Regions from separate parts of the Homo sapiens genome. Here region 2 is linked to region 1. Evidence: promoter capture Hi-C in 16 types of primary human blood cells and fetal thymus (Javierre and others, 2016). All regions are on one chromosome and are shown on one strand. The core of a region is centred on a gene start or on the middle of the fragment in contact, and the rest is flanking DNA. Distances in the headings are between cores, read along the strand shown. Region 1 holds the start of MUSK (muscle associated receptor tyrosine kinase). Region 2 overlaps LOC105376219 (a long non-coding RNA gene).

Region 1 (5,125 bases), core at 1,885-4,384:
TTGGCTGCATAAATGTCTTATTTTGAGAAGTGTCTGTTCATATCCTTCGCCCACTTTTTGATGGGGTTGTTTGTTTTTTTCTTGTAAATTTGTTTAAGTTCTTTGTAGATTCTGGATATTAGCCCTTTGTCAGATGGATAGATTGCAAAAATTTTCTCCCACTCTGTAGGTTGCCTGCTCACTCTAATGATAGTTCCTTTTGCTGAGCAGATGGTCTTTAGTTTAATTAGGTCCCATTTGTCAATTTTGACTTTTGTTGCCATTGCTTTTGGGGTTTTAGTCATGAAGTCTTTGCCCATGCCTATGTCCTGAATGGTATTGCCTAGGTTTTCTTCTAGGGTTTTTATGGTTTTAGGTTTTACATTTAAGTATTTAATCCATCTTGAGTTAATTTTTGTATGAGATATAAGGAAGGGGTCCAGTTCCAGTTTTCCGCATATGGCTAGCCAGTTTTCCCAACACCATTTATTAAATAGGGAATCCTTTCCCTACTGCTTGTTTTTGTCAGGTTTGTCAAAGATCAGATGGTTGTAGATGTGTGGCATTATTTCTTAGGCCTCTGTTCTGTTCCATTGGTCTATATATCTGTTTTGGTACCAGTACCATGCTGTTTTGGCAAACCAGGAAGAAGCTGAATCCCTGAATATACCAATAAGAAGTTCTGAAATTGAGGCAGTAATTAATAGCCTACCGAGCAAAAAAAAAAAAAAAAAAAAAAAAATCCAGGACCAGACGGATTCACAGCCGAATTCTACCAGAGGTACAAAGAGGAGCTGGTACCATTCCTTCTGAAACTATTCCAATCAATAGAAAAAGAGGGAATCCTCTCTAACTAATTTTATGAGTCCAGCATCATCCTGATACCAAAACCTGGCAGAGGCACAACCAAAAACAGAAAATTTCAGGCCAATATCCCTGATGAATATTGATGTGAAAATTCTCAATAAAATACTGGCAAACTGAATCCAACAGCACATCAAAAAGCTTACCCACCACGATCAAGTTGGCTTCATCCCTGGGATGCAAGGCTGGTTAAACATATGCAAATCAATAAATGTAATCCATCACATAAACAGAACCAGTGACAAAAACCACATGATTATCTCAATAGATGCAGAAAAGGCTTTCAATAAAATTTAACACCCCTTTATGCTAAAAACTCTCAATAAACTAGGTATTGATGGAACCCATCGAAAAAAAATGAGCTATTTATGACAAACCCACAGCCAATGTCACACTGAATGAGAAAAAGCTGGAAGTATTCCCTTTGAAAACTGGCACGAGACAAGGATGCCCTCTCTCACCACTCGTATTCAACCTACTATTGGAAGTTCTGGCCAGGGCAATCAGGCAAGAGAAAGAAATAAAGCGTATTCAAATAGGAAGAGAGAAAGTCAAATTGTCTCTGTTTGCAGATGACATGATTGTATATTTAGAAAACCCCATCATCTCAGCCCCAAATCTCCTTAAGCTGATAAGCAACTTCAGCAAAGTCCCAGGATACAAAATCAATGTGCAAAGATCACAAGATTCCTATATACCAATAACAGACAAACAGAGAGCCAAATCATGAGTGAACTCCCATTCACAATTGCTACAAAGAGAATAAAATACCTAGGAATCCAACTTACAAGGGATATGAAGGACCTCTTCAAGGAGAACTACAAACCACTGCTCAAGGGAATAAAAGAGGACACAAATAAATGGAAAAACATTCCATGCTCATGATAGGAAGAATCAATATTGTGAAAATGGCTGTACTGCCCAAGGTAATTTATAGATTCAATGCTATCCCCATCAAGCTACCATTGACTTTCTTCACAGAATTAGAAAAAACTACTTTAAATTTCATATGGAACCAAAAAAGAGCCCATATAGCCAAGGCAATCCTAAGCAAAAAGAACAAAGCTGGCGGCATCACACTACCTGACTCTAAAGTTCTATAAATGAACTCACGAGGCCAAAGAATGAAGAAGACACCAACACAAAGGGGAAAAAATCAAAACAATATGGTCATTGCAATGGTAGAGATATGCACAGTATATTATGGAAACCCAGAGAAGACAAACGTAACACAGCTTTGGGAAGATATGGAATTTTTCTCCCAGGAGGAGAGGATGATCAAGCTGAGAGATGTGTGAACTGAGTGGAAAGGAGGGGAGTAGTATTCCAAGAGAAGCAAACAGTATGAGCAATTCATGGAGGTAGGAAAGCTGTATACAGGGAACCATCAGCAGGTTGTTGAATAAAGGAAGCTGAATGAGGCTGGGCACAGTAGCTCACGCCTGCATTCCCAGCACTTTGAGAGGCCGAGGTGGAATCATCATTTGAGGCCAGCAGTTTGAGACCAGCCTGGGTAACATAGCCTGACCACATCTCTCCAAAAAATAAAAATAAATTAGCCTGCTGTAGTGGCAGTGCCTGTAGTCCTAGCTACTCTGAAAGGATCACTTGAGTCCAGGAGGCTGAGGTTGCAGTGAGCTATGATTACCCCATTGCACTCCAGCCTGGGCAACAGAGCAAGACCCTGACTCTGAAAAAAAAAAAAAACAAAAAACAAAAACAGGATCGTAAAAGACAATACTAACATACAACAAAGCATGCAGATTCCAGTAAAGCCTGTCATATTAGGCAGATTAGGCAGGTTTAAATATATTTTTATGTGATGATGAGCCCCTAAAGGCTTTTGAGCAGGAGGGACTATCTGAAAAAAGATATAGAATGGTTAAGACCCAAGACAGAGAGAAGGTACAAGGACTATTTGGTTGATAAAATCTGTAGGAATTGGAATGGGCTGAATGTGGGAGTGGGGGTGGGGTGAGAGATGGGGAGGACTGAAGACTGAATAGACCCAGATTTCTGGTTTGAGTCCGGGAGAGGTGGGGTGCTGAATTCGAAGGTCAGGACACCTATACCTCTGGGAATACAGCGATGGTTGCAAAAGGCATCTGGTATTGTCCTTCTGCCACTGTCTTAAAAGGGATTCTAAAGGGATTTTCTTGCCCTTGTTCCTCCAGCCCTACACTTGCATTACTGGCCTACGTGGATGCTCACCAGCTGGCTGTGTCCATCATTGCAGCCAAGTCTGAGAATTCCTGATTATACTTAGAGCCTGTGGAGCTGCTGACACAAACAGTCATTAGCAGACAACCCTTTTGCAACAAAGTATGCTTTAAAATGTAAACTGTGGAGCCATTTTCCTTGCGTTGTCCAGAAGGAACTTCGTCCTGCGTGAGCCTGGATTAATCATGAGAGAGCTCGTCAACATTCCACTGGTACATATTCTTACTCTGGTTGCCTTCAGCGGAACTGAGAAACTTCCAAAAGGTTGGTTTGAGCAATCGTGTCTTCTTGTTGTCTTGTCATGGTTGTAAAGTGTGTGTATATGAGATATGACCAAGACTGATTTATAGTATGGTGGGCTTGGGTTTTACTTGAAGAAGTAAGGGTGAAATGTATGATGAGGGAGGAAATTATATACATAAGCAATTGGTTGATGGTCTCTCTACCAATATTTTACTCCGAAGTTCTGCAATAAAAGGCTTAGCCACATAGTGCATGCAGAGCTCTGACTTCTAGGGCAAAACATAAGCATGTACACTGCAAGTTATCAAGGTCTATTTTGTTTATGCGAATGTCAAATTTCAGGGTGGTCTAAGTGGATGATGACAACCTTTTCGCATCAGGTTTGCCAGGAATAGAATCAACCCCATTCTCAGACATCCAGAGCATTTGCTTCTGAATAAAAATCACTTTTATTTTCAGTTTTAGCTTTGCCAAACTCTTAATAAATATTTTAGTTGCTAAAAATTGGAAATACAGAAAGACGTACACAATTTGCCTGTGTAACAAACCCGGAAGACAATGGATTTTAAATAACTTTGAGGCTGGAGTCATGATTTGGCTTGGCAAGAGACTGCAAAAGTTTTTTTCAGAGCCTTTGGAATGTACCGGAAATAACACCACCTCAGGGGAAAGGAAAGCAACTTAAGAAACTGACAAACACCTGTTGCAGTAGCAAGAATGTCCAGTGATATAGTTTCTGGCCAGTGTATTATGAAACTGGGACTAGCGTATTTGAAATCAGAAAGACTGGAAAGTCTGTGATTTGCAAAGTGACTAAGGGTATCACTGAAATCTTTTTTTAAAAAGACATGAGAAAGCAGATCGAGTGGTATCAATACAAGAGTTTTCAAATTTAATGTTATACCATAGAGTAAAAAGAGATTTTTGCTTCAGGACATGTTCAAATTAATCATTTTCCCTTTATATTAATCAAAGCACTGAAACAGTTTGTATTGTGTAGATAAATGAAGGTGGTATCTGTATATAGATGCAAAATGTATCTTTAGATTTTCTGGTTCACTAAAAATTCTGGAGCCATAAGGTCAAAGTTCACATGCAAATAAGATGCGGGTTTCTTCACAAACAATCTGATTTCACAGATTTTTTTGTTTCATTTTGTTGCTTCTCTTTTTCCATTTTACTTGAGTATAATGGTATCTTCAAATGTATTTAAACATTTAATTTCTAATGAATACTTTAAGGCATCTACAGATAAAAGAGACTCTAGATCTTTTCAAACAGCTAATAATAGTCAGAAAGACTTAACATTGGCTTCAGATTATTTTAATACTTCCTGATCAAACAACGGATGTCCGGTAAGGCCCCACCTGGATGTTTGAACGTATGGGTTGTCTTAAGTATTATTTGTATATTTCTAAACCACGCAGTTACATAAAAATGATAGGGTTAAATACTAAAATACAGTCTTATAAAGAGCAGGACAATTGATTTTGATGATTCAAATAAGGATTTGTTGTACACACACACAAAACCCCCAAAATCTCTCTATCTGAATAAGTCTTAATTTATATTCTAGAAAGAATTGATTTTCATTTCCAAACTTTACAAATAAAGCCCTTAATTCAAATGCACACTATCTCTATTTTGAAAATATTGAAATATAGTGGCATAGAGATAACAAAGCCAAACACCCTGACTTTTAAATAAACTAACCAGATCATTCACCCAATTTCATTTCTTATAATTTATTTACTACTAGAATTAGGTTTTAAAATCAAAAAATTTAAGCAATTTTTTCTCAGTCTATTGTACTGTAAAA
Region 2 (5,125 bases), core at 1,745-4,244, 610 kb after region 1:
ACGCAACTATGATTATTTTTTAAATTTCTAGAACGATTGCCTTGGTTATATTTTGTCTGTCTCCCTACAACAGGAAAACTCAAAGCTATAAGGACATATTTGCTTCCTTTCAGCACACACATAAAAAAGACAATAAGATCTGAAAATACAAAACCTCATGCTGAGGAAAATCTGAAGGCTATTCAACCCCAAAAGAGAAAGTAGGCAGCGGCAAGTAAGAATACAGGCTGAGTCCCTGGGGATTTGAAAGGACGATCAAAGGTCCCCTTAAGAAGCTCTTCTTGTCCTTAATCAAGAGTTCCCAGAGTTTTCTGAAGAGAGCTTTAAACACATTGAAGTCCACCTGCTCTTTTTGCAAATTCAGAATTGCAAATTAAACAGTTATCTAAGTTTATATAACTATCCAGTAGCAGAACTAAGACTATATTGTCAAAACACATAGAAACAAATGGACTCTGTGAAAACCATCCTGGAAATTACCAAACTAGTTCAGAAAAGAAAAAAAAAATGTGTAAGGATTTTACATAATAATATAGTCTATTCAAAGTTCACAATATGCAACACAGATATCCTTCAAAACCTTATGTCAAGGGTCAGGGGAGGACTGGTGGTTTCAGTGGAATAGCATTGGAACATGCTCAATCTAAATTCAGATGGGTTTGGGCATGACTGGATGTTTGATGGAATCGCCCATGCAGGGCTATTTACTAGAAAAGTGAGAAGCTTTTTTGCTAAAAACCCATCATAAGGAAAGGAAACATGTGGCATGCATGCTTAGGCGAAGCACACTGGTAAGGACCAGAAGGAAGGTGTCATTTTCAGTACAGCGTTGTGTTTGCAGCTCAGATTTTTCTCCAGCACGATCCCTTTCCCCTAAGGATCTGTGCTGGAGCCCTGTGGATATAAATTGTAAACAGAAAAGGACTGGATTTAGACATCTATGAGGACACTAAAACACAAGGCAGAATTGTTCTTTAAAGAATTTAGTCTGTATAATGAAGTGTGGGTCAAAGGAACCAGAGAGAGGGCAAAAGGTATTTTCTGTAAGCAGCAAGCTGGCTTTAGGGGTAGGGAAGGAGGACTCAAGGGAGAACATCTCTCACAGGACCTAGGGATTCAAGGACTTGAGAAATGAGCCAGACCAGCCTCCTCCCAGCATAGAGAAGGACCACTTAAAAAACATACTGTGTTCATAGCCTATAATCAATTTTTATGTTTTTCTTTTCTCTTTAAAAGTCTGTCATTCGCAATTTTTCACATGCTTTATAGTCTTCATGATTTTTCACCCACTTCACAATAGCCCATTAAATGACTATGCTGAGATTTGCTTAACCATCCCCCAAATTTAAGCATTTACGTTGCTTCAAATGTTGTAAAGAACATATATCTTCAATAGCCTTTCCCTGAATCAATGCATTCTAAATTCCTGGGAGGAGTTGGATATTGAGTCAAAGTCAATAAACAATTTTCATTCTCAATAAATATAATCAAATCAGCTTTCTATGATGATTTTTTTCCTTCAAAATGTGCTCTTACCAAAAATAATAAAAAAAATCATTTTCATTACTTTTTCTTCAAATTTGGGGTATTGTCATTTTAAGAATTTCAACTTCTATCTTACAATTTTTCTTCTTTTCTTTGTTATTTCATTAAGTGGGGAGTGGCATCTTATTGCTTCCTTTCCCTTGATTTCCAATGGAGATTTTTTTTTTCACATTTACTTAACTTCATTATCTTTTGAAATTATCTTATTTCCTTTGCTCCTTAAAATTCTGTTGAACTCTGCCCTCTAATAATTTTTCATAGGCTTTAGAAAACTCTAAATACAATCTTTAGACTTTGTGCCCAAGTACAAAAGGAATCATAGATGCAGATTATAAATGAATGTAAAATAATATCTATATAAACAATGCATAAAATAAGTTACAGTTTTTATAATTTTATACTATCTTGTTGGACAAAGGGGGTTGATTACTGATGTAATCAATTGTTGATGCTTACTAATATGATGTATATTTCTGAAAAGATGGCAAAAGATGTAAGAACCTAAAAAATATTATGTATAGATTTTATACGAATGTATACACATAAAAGTACAACTCATGAATAAAAAACACATGTCCTCATAATAATAGTTACCATTAAAGAGTAGCTGCTAGGTGCCTGGAACTTTATTTAACAAATTTTTCTTTTTTTTTTTTTGTGAGACAGAGTCTTGCTCAGTCACCCAGGCTGAAGTGCAGTGACACTATCTCGGCTCACTGCAGCCTCAACCTCCTGGACTCAGGTAATTCTCCCACCTCAGTCTCCCAACTAGTCAGGACTGTAGGGACGTGCCACCATGCCCAGCTATTTTTTTTTTTAATATCTTTTGCAGAGAAAGCATTTTGCCCTGTAGCCCAGGCTGGTCTCAAAGTCCTGGGCTCAAGCGATCCTTTTGTCTCAGCTTCCCAAAGTGTTGGGATTACAGGTGTGAGTCACTGCACCTGGCCACAGATTTCTTATTCTTATAACAAGGTCGATTTTATGAATAAGGAAACTGAGGTTCAAGGTCACACTTGCTAGCAAATGCTACAGCAACAATTCAAACCCTGATCAGTATGATTTCAAAGTCATAAGCTTCCCATGATGCTCTTCTTCACCACTGAGTTGCAAGGTAAGTCATACAAAAGAGTTAAAAGGCCATAAAACTCCTATTTCCTGCTCAAGTCTTTTATTCAGAATTTACGTTCTGTGATGTGTAATTTTATGGCTTTTTTTTTTAAAAAAAAAAAAAGAATTCTATGCTAGCTTGGGAACACATGCAGTCAAATGAGATTCTAATTAGACAAATACCACAGAAATACTAAGACCCCAAAATTGTACATTTTGTTTCTACCTATCAAAGTATGCCCTAGATATTTTTGTTTCATTCAAAACAAGTAGAAATTCCCCTTTCAGATAAATAACACCGACCAGAGACTGTTAGGATGTGCTCTTTCTCCCAAGTGAGAGAGAGAAAAATCTGCCTAAAGCCTTCTAGGATTCACCATGTTTGCATAATACCATGACCTCTGTTATCTAAATATTGACATTTTACCCTTTTATGGGATTTTTACATATTCTAGATTGAATGTAATAATTAAAAACATAAACATCCTTTACAATTGGAAAGTGATTTCTCTGCTTTCCAGTTTTAAGGAAAATCTCATAGAATTAATATTATGCAACAGATAGTTCCTGCTTTAGTAGCTTAGGATATAAAACAAAGTCACTTATTTTTGAATCCTTCATCTCTCTTTAAAGCATGCCTTTTATTCTTCCTCCTTCAACACACCACTATCACATCCAAGATAAGTCCACCAACCCCAAGAATTGACTGTTCAATTCAAAGCTTCATTCCTGGTTACAAATGCCTTTTAGAGAGAGAAAAAAAAAATAACTTTTATTTTAGGTTCAGGGGTACATGTGCAAGTTTGTTATATAAATAAACTCATGTCACAGAGGTTTTTTGTACAGATTATTTTGTCACCCAGATGCTAAGCCTAGTACCCAATAGTTATTTTTTCTGATCCTCTCCCTCCTCCCACCCTCCACCCTCAAGGTGGCCCCAGCGCCTGTTGTTCCCGTCTTTGTGTCCATGTGTTGTCATCATTTAGCTCCCACTTATAAGTAAGAACATGCAGTATTTGATTTTCTGTTCCTGTGTTAGTTTGCTAAGGATAATGGCCAAAGGAACAAAACAGAAAGCCCAGAAATAAGGACATACATCTACAACCATCTGATCTTTGACAAAGCTGATAAAAACAAGCAATGAGGAAAGGACTCCCTATTCAATAAATGGTACTGGGATAACTGGCTAGCCATATGCAGAAGATTGGACCTCTTCCTTACCCCATATACGAAAATCAACTCAAGATGGATTAAAGACTTAAATGTATAACCCAAAACTATAAAAACCCTGGAAGACAATCCAGGCAATACCATTCTGGACATAGGAACAGGCAAAGAGTTCATGACAAAGATGCCAAAAGTAATTGCAACAAAAGCAAAAATTGACAAATGGGATTTAATCAAACAAAAGAGCTTCTGCACAGCAAAAGAAACAGAGAAAACAGACAACCTACAGAATGGGAGAAAATATTTGCAAACTATGCATCTGATAAAGGTCTAGTATCCAGCATCTATCAGGAATTTAAACAAATTTATAAGAAAAAAACAAGCAACCCCATTAAAAAGTGGACAAAGGACACAAAACAGACACTTCCAAAGAAGATATAGATGTGGCCAACAAGCATATGAAAAAAAGCTCAATATCACTCATCATTAGAGAAATGCAAATCAAAACCACAAGGAGATACCATCTCACACCAGCCAGAATGGCTATTATTAACAAGTCAAAAAATAACAAATGCTGACAAGGTTGTGGAGAAAAGAGAACACTTATGCACCATTGGTGGGAGCGTAAATCAATTCAACCATTATGGAAAGCAGTGTGGTGATTCCTCAAAGAGCTAGAAACAGAACTACCATTCGATCCAGCAATCCCATTACTGGATGTATAAAAGGAAAAGAAATTGTTATATCATAAAGATGCATGTATGCATATGTTCATTGTGTCACTATTCACAATAGCAAAGACGTGGAATTAACCTAAATGTCCATCAAAGGTAGACTGGATAAAGAAAATGTGGTACATATACACCATGAAATACTAGGCAGCCATAAAAAAGAGTGAGATCATGTCCTTTGCAGGAACATGGACGGAGCCAGAGAGAAAATTTTGTCTACCAGATGGCCCCATACCCTACTGCCTCTCGGGCTGACACTGCCACATAAGGTCACTAGTGAAGCCCAGGTGGTTCGGTAACTTAGGTATGATCCAGCTTTTTTTCCTGATAAATTTATGGCAAAATGGGCCCACACTTCTATCAAAATCTTGCAACCCATCAGCATTTTTTTTTTTAAGACAGAGTCACACTCTGTTGCCCAAGCTGGAGTACAGTGGCTCAATCTCGGCTCACTGCAACCTCCGCCTCCCAGGTTCAAGTGAGCCTACTGCCTCAGCACCCCCTAGTAGCTGGGATTACAGGCACATGCCACCATGCCTGGCTAATTTTTGTATTTTTAGTAGAGACGAGGTTTC

What was found. Contacts are between HindIII fragments. The CHiCAGO score rates a contact against its expected background, and 5 or more counts as called.
Region 2: a fragment that was not itself captured here is called in contact with the fragment with the promoter of MUSK in region 1 in 2 of 17 cell types (M1 macrophages and megakaryocytes); the score reaches 6.1 in M1 macrophages.

What each region holds. Positions count from the first base shown.
Region 1 is chr9:110,665,657-110,670,781 of GRCh38, forward strand. MUSK (muscle associated receptor tyrosine kinase) reads left to right here and starts at 3,135. Exons shown (of 15, transcript NM_005592.4): 1 at 3,135-3,327. The coding sequence starts at 3,249. The HindIII fragment of the contact is 6,269 bases long and covers 983-5,125 here.
Region 2 is chr9:111,276,697-111,281,821 of GRCh38, forward strand. The region is part of intron 1 of LOC105376219 (a long non-coding RNA gene); the gene reads right to left. Among named protein-coding and RNA genes, the nearest start is that of MIR7702, 8.0 kb to the left of the region's middle. The HindIII fragment of the contact is 754 bases long and covers 2,618-3,371 here.